Linked DNA regions of Homo sapiens: all the other regions are linked to region 2. The links are contacts of gene promoters, found by promoter capture Hi-C in blood cells and fetal thymus (Javierre and others, 2016). All regions are on one chromosome and are shown on one strand. The core of a region is centred on a gene start or on the middle of the fragment in contact, and the rest is flanking DNA. Distances in the headings are between cores, read along the strand shown. Region 1 has its middle 14 kb from the start of TBPL1. Region 2 holds the start of RPS12 (ribosomal protein S12). Region 3 holds the start of SLC2A12 (solute carrier family 2 member 12). Region 4 overlaps LOC124901404 (a long non-coding RNA gene). Region 5 has its middle 28 kb from the start of SLC2A12.

Region 1 (2,700 bases), core at 105-2,604, 1.1 Mb before region 2:
GGGAAAAAATCTAAAATCCTTTTTAAAAGCAAATACTGAACAGAGAATAAGATACTGTAAGACCAAAATTAGGAACGAAAAAGAACCAAGAGAGATAAATAAGCAGTAGAAGGTGTTTATGCTTTGTAGGGGTAATGACAACTTGAACTTTCGTTTTGATGTCCCCACTGAGTGAAAGGTATGGCAATTGCCCAGGGATTGCACAAAGCAGGAAGCTGAACAGGAAGGAGATCCTCCTGACAGTGAGGTAGGAAATGAAAGGGCTGTGTCCTTAGGGCAAGAATATACCTGAAATAAACAAATCCTCTTTTGGTTGTTTCCATCATGGTGACGGTCCCGGGAATTTCAAGCTTTGAACTTAGATTAAGGTAGTCTCAGACTGATGGTGTCCTTAGGTGCCTAGCAGAAACAAAGATATCTCTCTATAGGAAGGTGGATTCCTGTTAGGCTAGGATAGTTCCCACAAATACATTTTAAAGTACTATTACCAGAACATGTGTAGTCAAGTTTAAACAGACACATGAGGAAAGAAGACAACATAAGCAAGAACAAACAGAAATAACAAAGGCCATAGAACCACAAATACTTAATATTTGGATTTAGCAGGTTATAAAACAGGTAATAAAACTATAGTTATTATTTAATGAAATAAAAGATAAATTTGAAATATCTTCGGGAAAAATTACGTTGCAGATATTTAAAAAAGGACCAAAGAATAAAATAAATTTATATGGTTCAGAAATTCTCCACTGTTTTAGTCTTCTGGTGGCACTCCATACTGGTTTTTAGTGCTGCTACGAATTAATTTTTTTTTCTTTGAGACGGAGTCTCACTCTGTCACCAGGCTGGAGTGCAATAGCACAATCTTGGCTCACTGCAACCTCCACCTCCTGGGTTCAAGCGATTCTCCTGCCTCAGTCTCCCAAGTAACTGGGATTACAGGCATGCGCAACCACACCTGGCTAATTTTTTTTTTTTTTTTTGTATTTTTAGTAGAGATGAGGTTTCACCATGTTGGCTAGGCTGGTCTCAAACTCCTGACCTCAGGTGATCCACCCACCTCAGCCCCCCAAAGTGCTGGGACTCTAGGTGTAAGCCACCATGCCTGGCCTGAATTAATTTTTATGTTTATGTTTTTACATAATTTTTATTTTTACATTTCTTCAATTTAATTGCATTTTGAAAGGGCAAGGAGGTAAATATGCATTTTAGGCCACCTTGAAAGCCAGTTGATGACTTTAACGGCAGACTAAATACAGTTGAAAAGAGAATTGGTGAACTAGGAGCTAGGTCAGAAAAACAATAATTTAAAAGTGAAACAGAGAGACAAAAAGAAAACACAGAATAAGAATTAAAAGAAATAAACAACAGAGGAGAATAGATTAATATACATCTCATCAGAATCTAGGAAGGAGAGGAGAGAGAAATGGGGCAAAGGTAATATCTGAAGAGATAATGGCTGAGAATTTTACGGAAGTGATGAAAGACACTAATGTACATGAAAGACACTAATGTACAGGTTAAGACAACCCAGTGAGTCTCAAGCAAAATAAACAAGAAGAAACCTATATCTAAAATTGTCATAATGAAACAGCTGAAGAGCAAAGCTAAAAAAAATAGAAAAAGAAAAGAAAATAGTGAAAACAATCAGAGAAAAGTGATGAATTGCTTTCAAAGGAGTAAATATGAAACTGACATGACTGCTCAGCAGCAGCAAGAGACATCAGAAGACAATGGAGGGGGATCTTCCACTTACTGAGAGAAAATTACTATCTAGTCTTAATGTCTAGTGAAAAATATTTTAATAGTGAGGCTGAAATAAAGACATTTTCAGGCTAATGAAGACTAGTAGTTTTTCCTAAGCAGAATCATACTAAAGAAAGTTATAAAAAAAGTGCGTTAGGCAGATAAAAAAAATGTAAGCTATAAAAAGGTATAAAGAACAAAGAAAGTGGTGAATAAATAAGTTAATATACACTGAAAGAGTAAAAGAACAACAATATAGCATCTAAAAAATAGAAAAAAATGCAATTACAAGTATCACATATGTTGAAGAGGGTCAAATGGAATCAAATATCCTAAGCAGCTTGTATGAAGGGTAAAGGTTAAGTATGCATGTTGTAATTCTAGGATAATTACTAAAAGAATAGAAACAAATTACACAATCTCCCAGCAGTAAAGGGAAAAAATTGGATGATAAGAAACAATTTGTTGAAAGAAGCAAGAAAAAAGAGAAAAGTATATACTGAATAGGTAGAACAAATAGCACACCATAAGATGGTAAATTAAAACCCAAATATGTAGACAATTACATTAAATGTATATGAACTAAATACTCCAGTTAAAAGTCAAGCTTATCAAGCTTGACTGATTAAGAAAAACAAAACAGGACAGGCACAGTGGCTCAGGCCTGTAATCCTAGCACTTTGGGAGGCTGAGGTGGGTGGATCACTTGAGGTCAGGAGTTCAAGACCAGCTTGGCCAACATGGTGAAACCACATCTGTACTAGAAATACAAAAATTAGCAGAGCTTGATGGCGCATATCTGTAATCCCAGCTACCTGGGAGGCTGAGGCAGCAGAATCACTTGAACCTGGGAGGTGGACGTTGCAGTGAACCCAGGTTGCAGTGGAGCCACAGCACTCCAGCTTGGGTGACAGAGTGAGATTCCATTTCAAAAAAAGAAAAAGAAAAACAAAA
Region 2 (2,700 bases), core at 144-2,643:
TACTCGGGAGGCAGAAGAATCGCTTGAACCTGGTAGGTAGAGGTTGCAATGAGATCGCGCCACTGCACTCCAGCCTGGGGGACAGAGCAAGACTCTTTGTCTCAAAAAAAAAAAAGAAAAAAGAAAAAAAAAAGACTGTGGCATTAATGGAACAGTTATGAAATGCCATGCAATAATGCCGAAATAGAAATACAGAAGACTCATACTAGGACCTACTAAATACATTAAACAATAATGCCGTTTCCATCGGATTGAACTGGCTAGATTACACCAAAACGAACTTGTCCTGTAAAACCTTAAAACTGCATTTAAATTCAGCTCAAGAGTAGGTTGATTTGTCAATGCCACCACCCTAAAAAACACATTAACTCGATCCATTCAAATACATTAACAAATATCCCAAATTCAAATAAATCACAGCTATTATACTACTAAATTCATCTAGGACCAAATGCTTCTGAAACCTGAGTTTGAAATTCCATTAAATTAATGCTTGTTTTGCAAACTACCAGATGTAATGTGGCTCTCCATCTCATCTATCTGCCAGATAAGTATAAGACTGACTAGCTCCACAACCTACAGGTTTGTCAGACTCTTATGTTTCACTCATAAAAGGAGTGAAGGGGTATCCGACAATTAAAGTCATCATTCAAACACTGTAGTTTTGAGTGCTTATCCCCATTCCAAACAGCAACCCACACATTTTAAGTGGGCTTTATAGATCTGAGTTCTGATACCTTTTCCTAGGTTTCCGGTAGGACGGATGCCATTCAGAACTTTTGCGCTAACACCATGAACTCCATGCCTTCTTCCCTTGGGTGGCAGTTTTGTTCCGGTTGCAAGAACCCACAGTATTGAGACTGATACACGTACTTGTCTAAGGCTTTGGCAGCTTCGCGAATTCCACGTGCTAGGCCATCGTGGATGAGGGCAGTCTTCAGAACCTCTTGTAAAGCAGTATTAACGTCCATTACACCTCCAGCAGCAATGCTTAAACGCGACACATCAGAACCATCAGTTAAAATCCTCACACCACATAAGGCCTTGCACTCAGCAAAAGCTAAGTGTACAACAGACGCGCTTACGGCGACCCGTTTGACCCAGTCCTGTTCCGCCAGCTCTAGCCCCACGCCTCAGCCGCACCCCGACCCCAACTCCAACCCCGGCCCCTGGGCTCACCCTTCCTCGGCCATGGCGGTGGGTTACGGGTGAAGTTGAATCTTGAACGCACTAAAAAACAAAAGCATTGACTTGTTAAAGAACCAGATACTCGTCACGAATCCCAGCAAGAACGCAACGAGCCACAAATTATAACCAATACACCCCCCTGCCGCCTCGCTCAACTTACCCCAAGCCTCCGCCTCCGCGCGACTCGGCGGCGGCAGGGAAAGAGGCCTCATCCGCACGCATGCCGGTATTTAAGGGTTTTTCAGGTCCCCTGTGCGCATGTGCACTCCCACCCTCGAAAGAGGTGGCTCCCGCAGTGCCGGGCCTGGGGAGTTTCTGTTTCCGGATTGAGGCGGTTCTGAGGCAAACGTACTGCGAGTTTTCTATCTCTGCCAGGCCGGTCCTTGGCGAGTGCAACAGGCACTACGCGGGCAGCTTCGCGTTGTCCTTCTTTGCGGAGGCGTGGCCCACCGAGGCCCAGGGAACTCATTCTACGGAGCGCGACAGAAGCCAAACAAGTGTGTCCGCGTGTTCTTTAAGGCACCTAGAGCCCTGTATCCCGCCGAGCGCCAGTTTTAACCCTTTCCACACCACGTTCTACTTTCCTGTTGCTTCTACAAGACCCAGCCTCCCCAGGCAGCGCACTTTGTTCCTTCGCTTCTAAGTCACCCTGAGAGACCATGTTTGTGTCGTTGTGGGTGTGATCCTCATCTTTGTCTTCATGAAACGAGAGCCTACATGCTTTCACTCTTCCAGGCTGGAGTGCAATGGCGCGATCTCAGCTTACTGCGACCTCCGGCTCCCGGTTTCAAGCGATTCTCCTGCCTCAGCCTCCCGAGTAGCCGGGATTGCAGGCGCCTGCCACCACCCTGGCTAATTTTTTGTATTTTTAGTAAAGACGGGATTTCACCATGTTGGCCAGGCTGGTCTCGAACTCCTGACCTCAGGGGATCCACCCGCCTCGGCCTCCCAAAATGCTGGGATTAGAGGCGTGACCCGCCGCCCCCGGCCGCTTTCACTATTTCTAAGCCCTTTCCCTGCGGTGTGTTGGTAAAGCGGAACCCTGCAGCCAGGGGTCAATTCTAGTTTCTAAGTATAGCGGGAGTCGCTTCTGAACGAAGTTTGTTCTGCTTTGTTTGGTTTTTAACGACGCGTTGTGCTCGGAATACACAGTTCCGCGCAACTCAGAATTCCTCAGGTGCATTTTCAACACCTACAATGTGCCTGACGCAGGGCCAGGTCCTGGGACTACAGACATGAAATATCCAGTCTTTGAGGAGTCCATTTTCTTCCAGGAAGCAATATTTTAAATTTGGAAGTGATTGGCCATTCCCCAATCCCCACTTCCAAACCAAACGCACGAAACACTACTGAATATGATCAATACTGCCTTTGTGTTTAATTTCCTCTCCTGGGTAGTCAGCCGCCAAACCAGTGAGCAATTATTAGGCGCTTGGCACGTGCCAGCGCTGTGAATCCAGTGGGCAGATACTGTTAGACTGGTGAGTGCAGCGAAAAAAACAAAAATGGGTA
Region 3 (2,700 bases), core at 7-2,506, 1.2 Mb before region 2:
ACAAAAATTTAGCTTCTGCTTATACAAGCACAAATTTGTTTTTCTGTCCAGAGAAATGCCTATGACTAAAAGCCATATTTCACGGCATCTTCTTAAAGTCGAGTAGGTCTGAAACCATAGGAAGCCAAGAAAATTAGAGAAGGACAAGGCTGGGAAGTTAGAATATAGGAGAGTTACAGCTTTAGACCTCCTGGATTCATAATCTCAGCTCTACCACTGATTAGCTGTGAGACTGTAGCCAAGTTACCCAACCTCCATTTCCTCTTCTATAATGTTGGTACCTGCCTCAAAGTCATCATCTGCGTTATTGCGCTTAGCACAATTTCTGGCACATAAGTGCTCCACACATGTTAGTTTTTATTCCAAATGATTTTTAAGATGATCTCAATTTCCTCTATAAGGCTTTTTTTTTTAATAAACATGATTTGTTGAATGAATAACTGAAGGTAAAATGTCATAACCCTGTAAGACTTTTTTATAAATATGTTCACAAATCAGAAAAAGATCCTCTCTCATGACCTGATTTTGTTTGAGATTACATGTCCACCACACGCACACAATGGGCCACTTAGTCTGGCCTCTCTGAGTGAGGAGTATCCTCCTCCTACCTACGCAAACATGAAACCTAACAGAGGATTCAGTGTTAATTTGTCTCTTAAAGACAATTCTGCATTAAGAAATGGATTACTTTGCTATAACCTCAGCATATAAAAAGTCTAAAGAATCTGTGCATTCTGAGTTTGTGTATTTTTGGTCTCAGGCTGTGATTTATCTGAAAGGCCTTGGAGAGAAAGATATAGGCCTTTACCTAGACCAAAATCAGGTTGAAACAATAAAGGTATTTTATGCTTTGTGTAAGCTGGTAAATACCATGACTTTTGGAATAACAGTCTTGCTGAAAAATTGACACACTTTTCCTTCTGGTATGTCTTTGCATAAATTGTTCCTCTTTCTGCAAGATTAACTGATACCATCTGTGAGTATTCTATCCCCACTCTCAGCTTGCATTTAAATCTGCATGTTTCCTTTCTCTGCCTCTTTTCAAAGGTGCTAGAATACAAGAGCTACCCTTAGCTAATGGCCAAACACTCCGTCTGAGTTCCCTTTCTTTTAACCCCTTGCTTCCAACTCTGCATCTAAAGGCAAAAACAATCCTCTGACTCACGGCCCTCCCCCTGCCTGTGATAGGCTGCTTGGAATAGCAACAGCCTGTGTCACCGAAAAGGGCAAAGCCTTCGGAAATAGAAACAAAGTTGGTCACAAATCACATTAGCTTTGCCCGAAGTTTTTCCCCACACTCTTCTTTAGCATGCTATTATGGGGAAAGTGACCACTCCTGGGAGCGGGGGTGGTCGGGGCGGTTTGGTGGCGGGGAAGCGGCTGTAACTTCTACGTGACCATGGTACCTGTTGAAAACACCGAGGGCCCCAGTCTGCTGAACCAGAAGGGGACAGCCGTGGAGACGGAGGGCAGCGGCAGCCGGCATCCTCCCTGGGCGAGAGGTAAAGTGAGCCTGCAGTGCTCGGGTGACCGCAGAGAAGCAAGCTGTACTCATCTCCCGAGTGTACTGTCTCTTGAGTCCCGTGTGTGTGTGTGTGTGTGTGTGTGTGTGTGTGTGTGTGTGTGTGTATGCGCGCGCGCGCATGTGGGCGCGCTGGATGAGTGGAGAGAAGGGGACAGGGTCTGGTGGGACGTGGGACAGCTCGGAGCTGTAATGTTGTGAAGATCGAAGTCTTGGTGGAACCTTATGTGCCAAGAAAATACAGGTTACACATCCACCACTGGTATGATGGGTCCCCTTGATTGTGTTTACATAATACAATGTATGGATGTTTTTCATATTGGAACGGTCCACTGGCAAAGATAGTCTCATTTGTAAACACACACAAGCACACGCTTGCTTACACTTTTTCATTTATTGTCACAAATGGACACTGTGTAACCAGTTGACATTATAACCACTGTTTTAAAAATCAGTATTTTAAACAGGCTTCATAAAATTATTAGTTATGTAATCAATGAGAACACAAACTTCCTTTTTAAATTCCCAGCACGTTTGTGATGAATTTGAGCGTTATTCAGAGCCTGAAACGCTTGCTTTGCTGGGTTCTGCCTTCTTTAAAACTGGCCTTGCAAACTGAGGTTTGTTTGCTATGATGACCTTCTGAAGGTGAAATTTGGAAAAGTTTTAATTCATTTAATGATCTTTGATAAATCAGAGGCTGGTCTTCACTTCCACATTTACAATTCCCACAAATACATTGTACGCTTTTTGCTGCCTCTTCCTGCTCATTTAGTTTGTGCTGCAAGGAATAGAAAGTAATTGTAATATGAAATGACAACAAACACAAAAAATCTTCTCTTTCCTACTACTTTCCTCAGCTGTGTATTCTTAATCAGATATTACATTCCCAAGCAGCATATAGAAATTTCATGCAAAATCCAATACACTAAATGATACAAAAGACATCTGCCTTTCTCTTGGGAATGGTCCTAATACTGACGTTTGCCTTGTGGGTTTGTCTGATCTTGGGGAATCGAACCTGTGACCCCTAACATCGAGGCATGAAGCGGCCCTCTTCAGGAGTGGAGAAGCCCTCCATCTTCCATGTCCTGATCTCTTCTCTTGCTTTCACACTTCTCGTCAAGAATGAGGCCGGGCGTGGTGGCTCATGCCTGTAATCTCAGCACTTTGGGAGG
Region 4 (2,700 bases), core at 158-2,657, 1.3 Mb before region 2:
AATGAGGATATGCGATATTTGTCTTTCTGTGCCTGGCTTATTTCACTTAACATAATGACCTCCAGTTCTATTCATGTTGTTGCAAATGACAGGATTTTGTTCTTTTTCGTGGCTGAATAATATTCCACTGTCTTTATCCATTCATCTGTTGATGGACACTTGGGTTGATTCCATATCTTGGCTATTGTGAGTAGGGCTGCAATAAACATGCAAGTGTCCACGGGTCTGAGAAGCTCGCCGGGCAGCAATCTCGGCTAGGAACCCGACATCAAGCTGATGGATGAGATGGTGATAATCATGGGGGGGCAAGATGGAGGCCACAACTTTCAAGCGGTTCATGGAGATGTGTGTCTGCGGCTACCTGGCTGTGCGGTGAGATATCTCTTTGATATACTGATTTCCTTTCTTTTGGATATATATTCAGCAGTGGGATTGATGGATCATATGGTAGGTATAGTTTTAGTTCTTTGAGGAACCTCCATACTGTTTCCCATAATAGCTGCACTACTTTACAACCCCACCAACAGTGTACAAGTGTTCGCCTGTCTCCACATTCTCACCAGCATTTGTCATTTTTTGTCTTTTTGATAATAGCCATTCTAACTAGAATGAGATGATATCTCACTGTGCTTTTGATTTGAGTTTTCCTGATGATTAGTGACACTGAGCATTTTTTATATACTTGGACATTTCTATGACTTCTTTTGAGAAATGTCTATTCATGTATTTTGCCCATTTTAATAAGATTATTATTATTATTATTTTGCTATTGAGTTGTTGAGTTGTTGGAATTCCTTATATATTCCAGTTATTAATTTCTTTTTTTTTTTTTTTGACGGAGTCTTGCTTTGTTGCCCAGGCTGGAGTGCAGTGGTGCGATCTCCGCTTACTGCAAGCTCCACCTCCCGGGTTCACGCCATTCTCTCGCCTCAGCCTCCTGAGTAGCTGGGACTACAGGCACCCGCCACCACGCCCAGCTAATTTTTTTGTATTTTTAGTAGAGACGGGGTTTCACCATGTTAGCCAGGATGGTCTCGATCTCCTGACCTCGTGATCCGCCTGCCTCGGCCTCCCAAAGTGCTGGGATTACAGGCGTGAGCCACCCTGCCCGGCCCAGTTATTAATTTCTTGTCAGATGAATAGTTTGCAAATATTTTCTTACTTAAACTTGGACAGTGTGATATATATATGAAGTGTGAAGGCCCTAGGATAGGTTATTTGACATCTGAAGCATGTTTTCCCTAATCAAGAATACATGCTCCAGAAGTGGTTAGCATTTGAAACACTCTAATCAGGCAGCCTCCCTGCAGAGGCTACTCCTACAGGCTTCGGTGATTTCCATCTGCACTATAAGGATTGTTTACCAGCATAAGAGCTGTTAGAATTCATTTTTTAATTGTTGAAATGAATGGTGTTCAAGTTATGTGATTTGCTAAAAAATATTATGCAAGAATGGTTGCCCTTGCATGAGCTGGGATATCAGAATCCAATGAGTGCAGCTTCCCATACCTTTCAAATTTCTTGTTCTAGGGCTCCAAAGAAAACCTGATCATGCTACTTTAAAATCACACTAGGTTAGTTAAATCTTCCTACTAAAATATTGTTACATTCAATGAAGTTTTTATGCAAGGTAGTCACAGAGCTTGTAAAAACAGATTATATAGCTGTTATTGGGCCAGCTTGCTAAAAGCTATTTGTTTGAGCCATAATTCAACCTGAAACTTGCTTTCATCATAACATATACCTGATAGTAAGGTTGTGTGGGAACACCTCTCACTCTCTACTACCTTTAGTCACTGGAGACTACTGACGTGTCCCAGCAATGATCTGTTTCTAATGGTTGGACTAGCTTAAGCCAGTTTAAATCCAGGGAAAAGGCTTGTTTTGGAAATGTATCTACACAGTGTCTGAGAAAATCTATGCTACTTATTTGTATTGATGAAGCACTTTCTTTTTCCTTTCCTTTCTCAGTAGTTTATAATAAGAATTTTCTTAACTTTTGAAAATGAATGGATAACCAGGGTCACCAGGCAATCGAAGAAAACACATTCAATTCAGTAATTCTTTTGGCATTACTATGAGGATTAAGTCAGATAATGTGTGTTAAATGCTTAGTATTTATCACTTAGCACGTATTCTATAAGTGATAATTATTACTTTAGATAATTAAATGTAAAATCTGAGAAAAAGTCAATAGAGCCCCTAAAGTTTCATTTTTTTCAATAATTCTCACACAAACTCAATAAATTTTAGAAAATTCCTCCTATCTGGTAGGCACTGGGAGTATAGTTGTGAAGAACTGGCAAAGACCCCACCTTGATGAAGTAGACATCTTAGGGCAGAGGCATACCACCAACAAATAAATCCATAATATCATGGAGTGACTGGTGCTCCAAATTAACATAGGGCTCAGCTGGTTCAGGGATGGAGTGTAATGGGATGGAGTGAGGAAGGGGATGGCTGCCTTTGTTAGCATGTTTCGGGGAGCCCTGGATGTAGAAGTCACATTTAAGCAGAGGTTCTGAGTGATATGAGGAAGCAAGTCATTGCAACATCTGGGAAGAGCGCTCCAGGTGGGTAAAACAGCAAGTGCGAATACTCTAAAGTGGGAATGTTCAGGCAGAGTTAGAAGTCTTGTGAGACTGGGCACAGTGTGGAAGAAGAAGGTCCAAGGAAATAAGGTCATTCCTGCCCGGTTTC
Region 5 (2,700 bases), core at 112-2,611, 1.3 Mb before region 2:
GTAGAGAGAGGCATGCTTGATTCGGGGAGCTGCTGAACACAAGGGTCTCCTGCTGGAGACCCTGAATTCCTGTTGCACTCCCTGTGTGTAAAGTGAGCCCAACAATGGCCTTGAATGTGAGAAATAAACATTTTGACCTCAAGTACTAAGAAGTCTGAGCTTAGGCACCAATCACCCCTGGAAAATACCAGCTTTCAGCATCTGGAGAATTGGACAGTGCCTACTACTGTGAGAAGCTGAATTCTGGTAGAAGCCATCCCAGTGGATGCAGGGCAGCACTTGAGCACATGGGAAAACTCAGGCTCTTTCTCTGGGAAACATGAGCCATCAGTCTCAACAAGCTTGTTGCCAGGTAACCAAGAGCAATTTCCCAAAATTAGTGATTGAAAGAGAAGGACCAATAGGAATAAACAGAATGACTAAATCTAGAGAAATCAAAGTTTATCCAGGGAGCCAAAGAGAATTTTTTTTAAGTCTAGAGAAGACATTGTGTATACCACACTCCCACAATGACATCTGCCCACCTACCTGCCTTAAGAGTAGAAGGGCAGGCCAGGCGCGGTGGCTCATGCCTGTAATCCCAGCACTTTGGGAGGCCGAGGAGGGTGGATCACCTGAGGTTAGGAATTCAAGACCAGCCTGATCAACACGGTGAAACTCTGTCTCTACTAAAAATGCAAAATTAGCCAGGTATGGTAGTGCATGCCTGTAGTCCCAGCTACTTGGGAGGCTGAGGCAGAAGAATCGCTTGAACCCGAGAGGCGGAGGTGGCAGTGAGCCGAGATCATGCCACTGTGCTCCAGCCTGGGTGACAGAGTGAGACTCCATCTAAAAAAAAAAAAAAAAAAAAGTAGAAGGGCAGAATTGTCAAAGCAGCCACACTTGAATGGTAGATCTTACCCAGCACCAAACTTCACTAATAATTCAAAGACTACAGGCAAGAACCAGACCATGGACAGATGTGGCATTTCTTTTGAGAGGAGCAGGAATCTGTCAGACTCCAGTTTAAAAAACAATATCTCTGTCTCCCTTATGAGTATACATTTTGTTTTCAGATTAACAATTGTCTTCTGAACAATTGTATGTGAAATAATTGTTTTCAAAGTGTCAGTTGAAGAATCATGAGGGAGGTTCATAAATTTGGAAAGAAAAGCCATATTTCTCATAAAGGGTTGCAGCCTGCAGGTGGCCATTCTGACAGGCTGGGAAGGAAACACACTTCAAGAGAGGGGTGAAGGGAACAGGAATTTATGCCGAGTCAGTTGGCTAAGTATACATATTCAACAGGTTAAAGGAGGAGCTATGGATATTCAAGAAGAGAAGGCACAGGTGTGTGTAGTGGGAAGGCTGACACGCATGCAGCATGCATCCCATGTTCACTTTGGGGTGGACACTTAACATTTAAATATATTACAATTAGACCCTATCCATCAAAAGGTGAAGCAGAGGACAGGAAGGCCCTCTGTGTGCAGCCTCTGCTATCCACTCCATGGCCAGTGGTCTCTTATCAGGAAGGAATGTTGATCAGTTGTTCTGTCAAAACCACAACAGGGAGGGGCAGCATCAGGTGGTTGGTTTCAAAAGGACTGGTTTCTGTTTACCCCTTAGGGAAGAAAGCCTAGCAGTAGTCAGTGGAGGAGGAGCTCTAATGAGGCGTGTCCAGCATCACATTCTGTCACGACCGAGGACTTGGTTTTTAAGGTTTTTCTGGGGTCCCCTTGGCCAAGAAGGTGTCTGTTCAGTTAGCTGGGGGACTTAGAGTTTTATTTTTATTTCTCAAAGGAAGATATTTAGTTGTGTGCCATCCATTCACCAACCAGTCATGTTACATAACTCCATAAATTCTAGGCTAACTTACAATAAGCAATCTTGACTTGATTCTTCTTCTTCCTTATGAAACGGCACTATTGTCTCGTGTAAATGCACAGGGTTTGTCATCTCACATCAAGAAGATTAAGGACACAGACACAAACAAGGAGTGATTTTAGGAGTGGAGATTTAATAGGAAAAAGAAAGAGAAAGGAGAACAGCTCTCTCTCTTGCAAGAGAGAGGGTCTCCCGAATGAGAATTCGAGCCTGGAATGGGAGTGCACCGGATTTTACAGACAGGCTTGAGGAGGTGGTGTCTGATTTACATAGGGCCCACAGAATGGTTGGACCAGGTGTAACGTTTATATAGCACAGGGGGAAGGCTGGCCATCCCACCTTAATCTTATTATGCAAATGGGCTTTCCACTTGGCTGGGGCCAAGTTGTCTTCTCCTTACTGTACACGTGGCTGGCAAAGAGAAAGAAAGATGGAGCCGCCAGTTTGAACATGCCTAGTCCCAGGTAGCCTTTTCCTACTTGTACAGCTGCCAGCATTCACCTGTGCAAGCTTCCACTTTGCTTGTCTATGTCTGCAGCTCGATTTTACAGGCTGTTCTTTGTTAGAAAAGAAAATGATTTGGAGCCTGTTTTTCATTAAAAAGAAAACCTTACTGAGGACTTCCTTACCCTCACTATCTGCCTAAATAATTTTTTTTAACTCCTATATCACTTATATTCTTTTTTTTTTTTTTTTTTTTTTGGCAGAGTCTCACTCTGTTGCCTAGGCTGGAGTTTAATGGTGCAATCTTGGCTCACTGCAACCTCTGCCTTCCAGGTTCAAGTGAGTCTCCTGCCTCAGCCTTCTGAGTAGGTGGGACTGCAGACATGTGCC

What was found. Contacts are between HindIII fragments. The CHiCAGO score rates a contact against its expected background, and 5 or more counts as called.
Region 1: a fragment that was not itself captured here is called in contact with the fragment with the promoter of RPS12 in region 2 in 2 of 17 cell types (total CD8 T cells and naive B cells); the score reaches 7.6 in total CD8 T cells.
Region 3: a contact is called between the fragment with the promoter of SLC2A12 here and the fragment with the promoter of RPS12 in region 2, in 1 of 17 cell types (total CD8 T cells). The highest score is 6.0, in total CD8 T cells.
Region 4: a contact is called between a fragment that was not itself captured here and the fragment with the promoter of RPS12 in region 2, in 6 of 17 cell types (naive B cells, total CD8 T cells, naive CD4 T cells and 3 more). The highest score is 8.9, in naive B cells.
Region 5: a fragment that was not itself captured here is called in contact with the fragment with the promoter of RPS12 in region 2 in 1 of 17 cell types (M2 macrophages); the score reaches 5.6 in M2 macrophages.

Annotation. Positions count from the first base shown.
Region 1 is chr6:133,937,530-133,940,229 of GRCh38, reverse strand. No RefSeq gene overlaps it. Among named protein-coding and RNA genes, the nearest start is that of TBPL1, 14 kb to the left of the region's middle. The HindIII fragment of the contact is 2,003 bases long and covers 353-2,355 here.
Region 2 is chr6:132,813,262-132,815,961 of GRCh38, reverse strand. RPS12 (ribosomal protein S12) reads right to left here and starts at 1,393. Exons shown (of 6, transcript NM_001016.4): 1 at 1,349-1,393; 2 at 1,180-1,230; 3 at 874-990. The coding sequence starts at 1,193. SNORD101 (small nucleolar RNA, C/D box 101) reads right to left here and starts at 655; the gene lies at 583-655. It overlaps LOC107986644 (a long non-coding RNA gene), which reads left to right and starts at 1,674. Exons shown (of 3, transcript XR_001744345.3): 1 at 1,674-2,669. RefSeq lists enhancers at 928-1,057, 1,488-1,767, 1,682-2,428. The HindIII fragment of the contact is 13,401 bases long and covers 1-2,700 here.
Region 3 is chr6:134,051,180-134,053,879 of GRCh38, reverse strand. SLC2A12 (solute carrier family 2 member 12) reads left to right here and starts at 1,256. Exons shown (of 5, transcript NM_145176.3): 1 at 1,256-1,502. The coding sequence starts at 1,400. The HindIII fragment of the contact is 5,616 bases long and covers 1-2,700 here.
Region 4 is chr6:134,099,075-134,101,774 of GRCh38, reverse strand. The region is part of intron 2 of LOC124901404 (a long non-coding RNA gene); the gene reads right to left. Among named protein-coding and RNA genes, the nearest start is that of SLC2A12, 48 kb to the right of the region's middle. The HindIII fragment of the contact is 5,204 bases long and covers 1-2,700 here.
Region 5 is chr6:134,079,229-134,081,928 of GRCh38, reverse strand. No RefSeq gene overlaps it. Among named protein-coding and RNA genes, the nearest start is that of SLC2A12, 28 kb to the right of the region's middle. The HindIII fragment of the contact is 2,035 bases long and covers 344-2,378 here.